2 separate regions of the Homo sapiens genome follow, and region 1 is linked to region 2. The links are contacts of gene promoters, found by promoter capture Hi-C in human tissues and cell types (Jung and others, 2019). All regions are on one chromosome and are shown on one strand. Each heading gives the region's core, a stretch centred on a gene start or on the middle of the fragment in contact. The rest is flanking DNA. Distances are from core to core; before and after follow the strand shown. Region 1 overlaps RYR3 (ryanodine receptor 3). Region 2 holds the start of FMN1 (formin 1).

The links. Contacts are between HindIII fragments. The study calls those that stand out against the background at their distance.
Region 1: a contact is called between a fragment that was not itself captured here and the fragment with the promoter of FMN1 in region 2, in 2 of the 25 tissues and cell types used here (IMR-90 fibroblasts and aorta).

Annotation. Positions count from the first base shown.
Region 1 is chr15:33,520,680-33,526,216 of GRCh38, forward strand. All of the region lies in intron 3 of RYR3 (ryanodine receptor 3), which reads left to right. Among named protein-coding and RNA genes, the nearest start is that of RYR3, 210 kb to the left of the region's middle. The HindIII fragment of the contact is 3,649 bases long and covers 585-4,233 here.
Region 2 is chr15:33,191,283-33,196,809 of GRCh38, forward strand. It overlaps FMN1 (formin 1), which reads right to left and starts at 3,432. Exons shown (of 21, transcript NM_001277313.2): 1 at 3,296-3,432; 2 at 2,627-2,778. It overlaps LOC105370759 (a long non-coding RNA gene), which reads left to right and starts at 3,629. Exons shown (of 3, transcript XR_932090.3): 1 at 3,629-4,293. RefSeq lists silencers at 3,411-3,750, 3,525-3,734. The HindIII fragment of the contact is 9,448 bases long and covers 1-5,527 here.

The sequences.
Region 1 (5,537 bases), core at 1,159-3,658, 330 kb after region 2:
CTGGCGATTTGCTCTTTTAAAAGACACCATAATAAGAAACATGTGTTAGGGTTGCCATTTTGGCTCACTGTTCTCTCCATGGCATCTGTGTTCAAAGAAAAGCACAGATGTATACAGGATGACCCTGCCCAATTTGGAGGCATACCAGTGACCACCTTTTCCCCCTCAATGGAAAATGCTCATCTGTCTGTTTGAGAAGCAGTGTTTGAAAAGTATCAGGACTAGTGGGAAACTCAGTCATTTAATTTGTTCCCCAACCATTATGGATTGGGACAAAAGGGGAGGAAAATGGTTGCAGAAATCTACATCGATTCTCATAGGGCAAAGGCTCTTATTTTTAAAGTCTTGGAAGGCAGGAGGTTCCCCAGTTGTCTTCAGTTGCACATTTGGAGTTTAAGTCTGCACCATCCAGGGGATCTTCCTACGGCTTTAGGTGCCCACAGGAAAGAATCAACTCTAGGTTACCATAGCATCTCGTTTGCAGTCTCCAACCCATCTGAGCCATCTCGCAGATTATACCTATTCCATGTGCTAAACTTGTGCAAAGCAGAATCTAAGTTGGTGTTTTCCTGAAAGAGACTACTTTACTGGGGTACAGGTTCTTGCTGCAAATGATGCCTGTGACTGAGAATTTACACCTTCTCAAATTAGGCTCTGGCCTTTCATCCTTTTGTTCTGAAATACTTCCATGTGGCAGTGAAACTAATGACATGAACAAAAAGGAGATTGCGCCACCTTCTCATCCAGGAAAAATAATTCTAGGCACTTCCAAGAGAGAGGGTTAGCTGGATTCAGTAAATTATAAACCATGGGAATGGTAAATTTGACATTCAGTAGTGGGCGGAGGGGGATGGATTGTTTGATTTTGCCTCTGTTTTCCTTGCTTAGTGGCAAAGTTTATGTATTTAAAAAATCAAAGGAGTGCCTTTCTGTGCACTGCTTTTCAAGTATTCTTCTCTTTTGTCCTGTGATATGAGGAGACAGGAAGAAGGCAGTACTGTGGGTGTCGAAGGTGGGGCTCCCTGGAGTCAAGGTCACTCTACAAGAGCACAGCAGCAGACAGAGTGACTGCCATAGGTCCTTCTGCCACCAGATGCAGCCAACTTTCTTTTCTGGGGTAAGGGCTGTCCTATTGTGCATTGCAGCCTTTGACATTTGGTCCTGTCTTTTTAGTAAGGCAACTGCTAGCTGACCAAGTAAGACTGCCATGATCACTGAATTTGGGGGAAGTAGTACTTTCAGATGCTGTGCCTTCCTCCTGTTTTCTGAACTTCATTAAGATTCTATTTGATGGCCAGATGCGGTGGCTCATGCCTGTAATCCCAGCACTTTGGGAGGCCGAGGCAGGCAGATCACCTGAGGTCATGAGTTCGAGACCAGCCTGGCCAATATGGCAAAACCCCATCTCTACTTAAAAAAAAAAAAAAAAAAAAACTAGCCAGGTGTGGTGGTGTGAGCCTGTATTCCTAGCTACCCAGGAGGCTGACACAGGAGAATTGCTGGAACCCAGGGGGCAGAGGCTGCAGTGAGCTGGGATTGCACCACTGCACTCCAGCCTGGGCAACAGAGCAAGACTCCATCTCAAAAAAAAAAAAAATTCTGTTTCATAGTTTCAGTTTTCACTTTTCTCTCAAGATGCCCATGAAAGATGCCAGGGGTGTCGCCCCCTTTCAAGCATGTTTCTGTGAAGGACCTGTACTGCTCTGGCTGAGTTGGTCCAGGCCCACTTGGAAGATTTCTTAGGGGGGAAAAACCTCTTCACAAAGTTCCCTGAAGTCAATGGCTCAGGCACCTCTGACTCTCGGCTTTAGATTCGTATTAATTACCCCATTATGAGTTGAAAATCAAGGTGTCAAAAGAACGATACCTTATGCTGTATAGTGCTTTATACTCCAAGGTTGAGAGCCACAGGAGGTAGAGAGAATCTTTGTTCAGCTCAGGAGAAGGAGGGTTTGGCAATTAGCCAGTTGAGGATTTAACTATCTGATCCAAAAAAGGTGGTGAAGAAACAAGTTAAGTGTCCCACACTGGGCTCTTTGGGGTTTCATACCAGTTTCAGGGAGTTAGGATGGCTACCTGTACTTAGCGAGCTCCTGTTGCCTCATTCTCTGGCTGTGACTCCTCATCACAGGCCATACTCATCTGTGCATGTGCCCCTCCTACCCCTGGGCTGTACTTTCTAATTCCCAGTCTACTACCACAAAATCCTTCATTAACTATTAATATCATTAAAGAAGAAAAAAATATCCGTGTTACCAGATGTTTACAATTCAAGGCCTGTTTGGAAAATGCCCCATCAGTTCCTTTGGTGTCATTTGAGCTGGAGAGGTGTTGTCTAGCCCTATTGAGAGGTGAAGCCAGCTGGGCTTCTGGGTGGGATGGGGACTTGGAGAAATTTTATGTCTGCCTAAAGGATTGTAAATGCACCAATCAGCACTCTGTGTCTAGCTAAAGGATTGTAAACACACCAATCAGCACTCTGTAAAATGGACCAATCAGCACTCTGTAAAATGGACCTATCAGCAGGATGTGGGCAGGGCCAAATAAGGGAATAAAAGCTGGCCACCCGAGCCAGCAGCGGCAACCTGCTGGTGTCCCCTTCCACGCAGTGGAAGCTTTGGTCTTTTGCTTTTCACGGTAAATCTTGCTGCTGCTCACTCTTTGGGTCCACACTACCTTTATGAGCTGTAACACTCACTGCGAGGGTCTGAAGCTTCATTCCTGAAGTCAGCGAGACCACCAACCCACCGGAAGGAGCAAACTCTGGACACCCCACCTTCAGGAGCTGTAGCACTCACCGCAAGGTCTGCGGCTTCATTCTTGAAGTCAGTGAGACCAAGAACCCACCAGAAGGAACCAGTTCCGGACACACTATCTGTCCACCCCTCCTGGAAGAGCAGTCTGCTTGAGTAGGATCTTTGGAGTTTGGCCAGCTAAGGGAGTGATCTGCTAGCCTATAGCAGTAGGGCAGGGTAGACCTAGAATCTAACAGCTGTGTGAGGCAGCCTTGAGAAGCAGGGAATGCACCAAGTCCCCAAAAACAAGAACGGGATTTAAAGTGAAGAGGGACAGTCAGAGGAGCCACTGGGTTTGGGACCCAACTGCAACGAATCCCTGCAGCAGGAGATGTTTACTTTGGAGTCTGGAGCTGAGCCTGAGGGAGCTATGGGGAAGGGAGTCAGGTATCGTCAATAAAGGCTGCCTCTCTAGCGTTTCCGTGTAACACCAAGGGTAAAGAAAGACTCTGGAGTCAGTGTCTTAAAAGCAATGATGCTAGATATGTGTCCCCATCTGCCTTTCAGGTAGGTAAAGTCGTTTCCTGAGGATCCTGGCAAAGTAATCGTACCCACAAGCAACTGAAGGTACAGGGAATAGGCAAAATACTTTTAAAATGCTCGATTTCATTAAACACACGTACCATGTTGTTGCACTACCCCCCTACACACACATACACACACTATCCTTTTCCCCAAAATGCTGATATAGTAATAGTGTTAAAGAAAATTTAGAAAAGGAAAAATTCAGTGGTTCGGCAGCCAGCCAAATGGCTATTTCATTTTCATAGGTTTCCTTATTCTTGCCTATATGTAATACTTGAAGGTATTTTGTTTTCTGCTTTTCCCACGGTGGCATATCACAAATGTTTTTCTGTGTTTCCACATAACCTCTGTAATTGCCTTCTTTAATAGGTAAAGCATAGAACATCCTCAAGAAGCCTCATAATTTACTAGGTAATATTTTTCTTTGGGACAGTTAGGTTCTTTCCAGGTTTTTTGTTTTGTTGCGCCTATTATAATGCTCTTATCACAGCTGGGTGCACACTTTTCTTTGCTTGTCTTGAATTGCTCCCAGAAGCAGAATCACTACAGAAAAGGTTATGGACTTCCTTATGGCCCTTTTCATATACTTCCATATTGCTTTGCAAAAGGGTTGTATTCCGTACCACCTTGCCTGGAATCTCATCAGCTAAATTGCAACTCTGATAGCATTAAGCTTTTTTTTCCCCACTTTTGCAAATTTTGCAGATGTAAAATGATATATCAAAGTTGCTTCAAGTGTCATTCCTTTCATTACTAGAAAAGATAGAATCTCTTCCATATGTTTGAATTTTCTTCTAATATGCGTCATTTATTCATATTCTTTGCCGACTTCTATGAGGCTTAGTTTTTTTCCCTACATTTCAACGAGATAGTAACCCTTTTGTCATAGTGTTACAAAGTCTTTCTGTAGTCTATTAAATGTTGGTGTTTCCATTGTTCTGAATTTCAGTAATTTTGGTACAATCGTATCTGTCTTCTATTGCCTTTGAGTATATCTGATGCATCAAAGCATGGATAAATATTAGGTCTGTGAAGAATGTAGACTCTTCCGTTGCATGCTAGTTGTTTTAGAATTTAATTTTAAAATGAAATATTTAATTATGTTATCCATCTGTAACTTATCTTTTTATGTTTCCTGTGGATCTTACTGAAAGCTTTTCTCATTTGCCATCCGCATCTCACAGAGACTTGTGCTTAATAACCCCGCCTTTCTCCTGTTGTACTGAAATCTGCTTTGTCATATGCTACACTTTCATATAGTCAGACCTGTTTATGGACTGTCTGTATTGTGCCACACTTTTCTCTTTGAATCAGAGTATCAGAGTGAATTAATGAACTTGGCTTCATAACATTTACTAAAACCTTGGTTCTTTTCAGAATAAAAAATCCTTACTGTTTATATTGCCAGATTAGTTTTGTAGCAATTTGTGAAATTGCAAAATATCGCACTAGAATTGTAATTAAAACTGTATTAAATCTGTCAGTTAAATTTAGGGGAATAAGCAGTTACAAATATTAATGTTCTCATCCTGTAACAAAGTACACCTTTCCATTTCATCAAATCAAATCTTATTTTATACAATGAGGTTTTGTAGTTTGATTTTAAAGGTTGCCTTCACCTAAGCAGATTTCTAAAAATTTAACATTTTGTGGAAATCATGAGTAGAATCTTTCATTATGCTTTCTAACTGAATATACTGGGTGACTTGCTTTTGTTTATTTCTACTGTTAAGTATTATTGTTTTCTACTTATAAGGCATCATTACTATTTAGTTGTCACTTGTATCAAAGGAAATGCAAACCTCCCAGGCAATGTAAAAGGGCTCTAGCCTGTTCAGGAAATATTGTTCTGTGAGCTTCCAGAAAGACTTCTTTCTTCTGTAGCCTAAAAGAGGGGAACTGAAGTGAGGTGTGAAAGGAAGAGAAAATTAAAGTGCACATCCATGCTTGGAAAATGACTTCATCCCCTACAAGACCTCCTAGGAATATGACCTTCCAAACAAACTCAGCAAGGAGCCTTCCTGAGGCCTTGGAAGATTTCTTATTGCCTGGGACTCCCAAAGTGGAATTTAGGGTTCGAGATGTTAAAGGAAGTTAGTTTGGAGCTCTAACAGTATTGAAACATTTGTGTGTGGCTGGACAGAAGCATAGTCCCCTCCCCTCCTTAGTTGCCGTATCTGGTTTATCTGACTGGGAAGAAATATCCTCTGGGAACTA
Region 2 (5,527 bases), core at 2,182-4,681:
ACCTATGACACTTTAGAAGGAAGAGATAGGCATAGTTCGAATAAGATGGAACATAAAACAAGTCAGTATCAAGTTAAGGAAATAGGAGGTGTGTTGGTTAAAGAAAAAAAAACTTAACTAGTAGTCTGCTTCCTAGAGAGATGCATTACAGAGATCATGGTCATTTCAGGCCAGTGGGGAGGTAAGGATGTCCACAAGGAGGACCAACTCTCTTCTCTCTCCCTCATCCTCAAACATGCACTAAGGCAGTATTTGCTGAAAGCGTAGATAAGCACAGAAATCCAGGTTACTCTGGGAGATTGTTTACTTTTAGCCAGGGAACTTGAGAAACATAAGTGAGAGGGAATGCTCCATTTCTCAGACCCTTGCTTTTATGCGCTGACAAGGTAAAGAGGTTTGTTTCCTTCTTTACATCTCCCCGCTTTAGTAATTACTATTTTGCAGAGCATGGGGTTGATGCTTTGTCAGCACTTCAGCACAGACACTAAATACAGAGATGCTTCAGTTCCTTCACAGTGCCAGCCTGTTGGTGCAAGCTTATATTTGCTGCAGGAGAATACAATTCCCATGGTTTAGCGTCTCTGCAAGATCAGGCAAATCAGATTAACAGCTGTAATTCTGTCAACACAGGCTGGGACCTGTTGAGAATTAAGCTGATATTTAAGACAGAGACTATGTACATCTAAAAATAATAGCTACTCTTAAAACCAGGTCCCAAAAAGAGATTATGAATAGCCCCTAAACGTGGTCATACTACCAACCAGTAGCATCACTGCAAGATATGAAATATCCATTATGAACTTTTACACTGATACGAATAAAGTTTTAATAAGAAAACCATTAAAGGCAAGATCATCTAAAGCACACCACAGCTTGGGATGGTGTGCATGAATCCAAAACTTTAACGTAAAACTAGACTTTGAGGCATGGTATATGAGATAGGAGAGAAGCATTTCTCAATTTTCTATCAAGGATATTTACCATCATCACATCAAGTTCCAGTCTGTCCCCATTCCTCTTCCTCTGGGAACAGCTCCACCAATTTTATGTCTGGAAAGGGAGGATGACCAGGATATGAGACCTACCCTTAGACAATCATAGGTCCTATGGGACCCCATTCCCTTGGCCAAAGCATTTGGTCTAGGCAGGGTTAAGCCTGTGACAAAGGCTTCATCAATCACAGTCAATGCATTGAACACTCAGTGAGAAAGAAGCAGTCTAGAATAGGGCCAGAGGCCTGGAAATCTTCTCTAAAGCTGCATCTTTAACGTATCTCAACTAAGAATCGGCTAAGTACTTGTGAAGGCTGGTGAGAGAAATGCCTGTCCAAACACAGGTGGCTTCAATAGTGGCACCCCTCTAAGATGTAGTGCTATAAGGAACCTGAAGACTACCATACCCCATTTGCATCAGCTCTGACACCTAAAAAGGATAAAGACAATGGAAAAAAATGCATAATTTTTAGGAACGAGACTGGCCTTTATTATCCTTCTTGACTAGTATTATTAATAGCAGTTACTATAAATTCCCCACTTATGTGCCAGAAACTACTGAGTATTTTACCTATATTATCTCGTTTAATCCTCACACCTTCTCCTAAGAGACAGGTAGTATTATCCCTATTTTACAGACGAGAAATTAAAATTAAAGAGGCAAGCAACTTGCAAAAATCACTGAGCTAGTCAGTGGCTGGTCCAGGATTTGAACCTATGTCTGACAGGTTTATGAGTTTAGCCATTACAATATACTGTCTCACTACTCTTCTCCATTGTTTCCCTCCATTGAGGCCATTGCTTCTTTGTTCCTGCAATATGTCTAACTATTCATTGGTCCTGCTCCTGGACTGTAACACAGTTGAGAGAAAGGAGACTAGTGTTTAGATATCTGATCAAGAAGACCCGAGACCTCATTGATTCATTGTGGAAGCAACATCTTCCACAACGACAGTTAATCTGGTATGCAATTCTCAGCTATACTGTTTTCCCTCCCAAAAAAGGGTTAATAAGTCTGTGATCCAAGAGATTTGCAGTAAGCCCTAGAAACAGCTAAGCAACGGCTGTTGAATCCCATTGGTGTGCCTATAAGATGCTACCTGGTGTAGAGAACAGAATATAATTCTCTCTCCTAGGAATTTAGATGCGCCCCTCCGCCCCCCTGCCAATACACACGCAAGGGGGCATAGCAGATGATGGCACATGTCCCATATGCAAACATGAATAGTAAACATGCTTTAGTACAGCTGGAGCTACTGTAGCAGAAAGTCAGGTTGTCTGCTACTCCACCTGGTCTTCTTAAAGGATTGGGTCTGGACATTCACCTCTCAGTGACTGCCACTCCCCATATATATCACAGGTTCAGGCTCTGCATTCAGCCCATTCGGAGTGTGTGAGTGCTAACATGGAACTCTCCAGGAGACAGCAAGCAGAAATGTGGATGATTAAAATAAAGGGTTTTCTTTGGCAATCTCAATTGCAAATGAGGATAAGGAAAATCCTCCCAGCTCACACTCTGCTCCCAGCTACTTGTTCTTGAGTTAAATGAGGGCTTGGCTCTGGCCTCAGGGGGCAAGAGCACTGTTCGTTATTTGGTGGTGGGGGAGGGGGTTGGGGGATCCGTCAGCACTTACATGCCTTTAGAGAATCTGCCTTTACAGAACTTGAAGAGCTCTGATGGAGGAACAGAGATGCTGTGGTGGTAGTGGCCTTGGAGGTGGTGGTAGTGGCAATGGTGATGATGATGATGATGAAAGAAGAAGAAAACGGTGATGGTAAATGTCATCTATAAACACAAGCAAAAAGCAGCAACAGATACCTTTCTAGTCATTGCCAACCATAGTCATGAAGCTGCTTCTGTTCCCAATGCAATCCCATTGTGGTGCTCCCCCTCTGCGCTAAACACATCCAGCTTCAAAAAAAAAAAAAAAAAAAAAAAAAAGCTCTGCATCTCTCCGTCCCCCGCCCTCCCGCCCTCCCGCCCTCCACCTTTCCTGTGCCAAGCTGGGAATGAGACTGCACTGGCGGGTCAAGGGGGCTGGGACCTGAGAGTCAACGACAGGAGTTCTGTAGTGAGGAGCGTTGGGATGACCCGGAGGGCCCACCAACGTACTTGGGAGCAGCTTGGTGGGGGAGCTGGAGGAACCGACACAGAAGGGGAGGAAGATAAGCTGGCGGGGTAAATAGACTTGATGCCTCATTCCAAGAACCCTGAAAGCCACGGGGGAAGGCGGAGCAGGCAGCCTTTGGTCGGGAAGAAGAGACGGGCAGATGGCCAGCAGAACAGACAAGACTCTCTTTACCTGACCAATACTCGGGAGGCTGGTCCCGAGTCCCAGCTACTCGGGAGGCTGAGGCAGGAGGATTGCTTACGGCAACAGCCGTGGCGGCTGCAGCCTCGAAGGATGCTGCGCTCCAGTCCAGAGCCAAAGCCCAAAGGGGCAGCTGCGCCGACCTCCACCGAGGCTCCGCCCCACAGGCCACAGGCCCCGCCTTCCTAGCACGCGCCGGCCTGACGAGCTGTTTGGGGGAGGTGAGCAGTAAACTGATCGGCAGGGCTGAAGACCAGTGGAAACGTGCAGCGGCGCCCGAGGTGGCAGGGGAGGCGGGGCGGGAGGCGGCGGTGCCCAATCAGCAGCCGAGCCGTTGGGCCAGGCTGGGAAGCAGTGCTGTCTTTTGGCACCGTCTGATCCGGGCTGAGGGATTGAAGGCGGTGGTCGCTAAGCTAGGTCTAAGACGGACAGCCAGGGCGACAACCAGTCTCTCGCTACGTGTCCCCAGCTTCCCTGTTTCCGAGCGCCTCTCAAGGCGCACGCTCTGGACTTGTTCAGATGGGGGAAGGGAACTGGTCTGGAACTCCCCACTATTCCCGAGGTTCCCACGCCTCCAGATCCGGAGAGGCCGTTTCGCTCCAGTGGCCTGGCCCCCCTGCCCCCTCAGCCTAGCCGTTCTTGATCGTAAGTGCTAAAAGGAACAAAGAAGGAGAATTCAAGAATCCACACATAAGCCCAAACCCTGACAGGAGCCTTTTCCTCTCCCATCTCCTGCCTACGCTTCCTCCTAGTAGCTTTTTAACTGCTGGCGGTTAAGTTACTTTGACTGGTTTGAATTAAACGCAAAATAGGTTTAGGCTGAGAAATGGGCCAGACCCTTGGCGATCTGAGAAAGAAAGACTGAGTCCGGATGTCAAGAGGCCTGGGCCTCACGAGGGAGTTTGTCTGCTTATTTGAACACCTCAGAGTTGAAGATCTTGTTACTGCTATTTCTGTGCTGGTGAATCAGTACAGACCTTGATGCCAAGGTACTGTTTTGTCCCCAAGTGTCTAATCATTACTGAAATGAACTACCTTCAAACCTTTCCTAAGAGGATTTGAGGCCTTAATGTCGTTGAGATTTGGAATGTGATTTGAGTGACACTGAGATCTTTTCCAAGTAGGTAGGCAAGAAAAGGCATTGTCTTTAATCTGCTTTTGGATAAATGCGAACTGTATCACCCATTTGGTACTTGAAGATAGAATTTTGTCCTGAATAGATTCTGTTTTCAAATAAGTAAATGGGAAAAAAATTTGGAAGGTATTTTTAAGGTGATTTTTTTCACTATTTTTTTTCTAGAAATAATAGTTTATTGGAACTCTGATTTATTCTTAATCACAATATTAGCCAAACACTGATAGGCCCTTTATTTATTTGTTTTTTTAACACACGGTCTCACTCTGTCACCCAGGCTGGGGTGCAGTGGTGCGATCTTGGCTCACTGCAGCCTCAACCCCGTGGGCTAAAGCCATCCTCCCAACTCAGCCTCCAAAGTACCTGGGACTACAGGCGGGCACCACCATGTCCAGCTAATTTTTTAATTTTTTATTTGTAGGGACAGGGTTTCACCATATTGCCCAAGCTGGTCTCAAACTCCTAAGCTCAAGCGATCTTCCCTTCTCAGCCTCCCAAAATGCCGAGATTACAGTTGTGAAGTGCTGTGCCCGGCTCCATAGGCACTTCATATACATTATCTCCTTCAATCCTCATATCTTCCCCTTGTAAATTCCACTTATAGATAAGAAAACTGAGGTTCCCAAAGTTCAAGTAATTGTCCTTGGGTCATGTTCGTAGTTAGGAGTAGAGTCAATACGAGGTCCGTATATCTCCTGTCTAAAAATCATCATCATCAGTTAGAAGAATAAGAAGCCCTCAGTACGACTCTTAATTCCTTGATGCTTTTTTCTTTTTACCTGAAAATTGTCATATAGGGATCCAGTTTTCACACTACTGACTTCTTGAAACCGCAGCCTCAGAAGCACCTTTAAGAGTGAAGTGTCACCTCTGACATGTGTTAGGAGCAATTGCAAGTCAACTTTGCTCATAGAAGGGAGCTGTGATTTCCTATTGTTGGGAAGGAAGTAAAATTTTGCAGGGCTTAAGTCAAACTAGGTTTTAATTGATGTAGAAATCTTTTAAAGTCCACCCACAAAATAATATCATGGTCGTGTGAGCTGAGTCCTAGAAAGGTAAAAGGATGTTAATCCAAAGTCATATTCCAG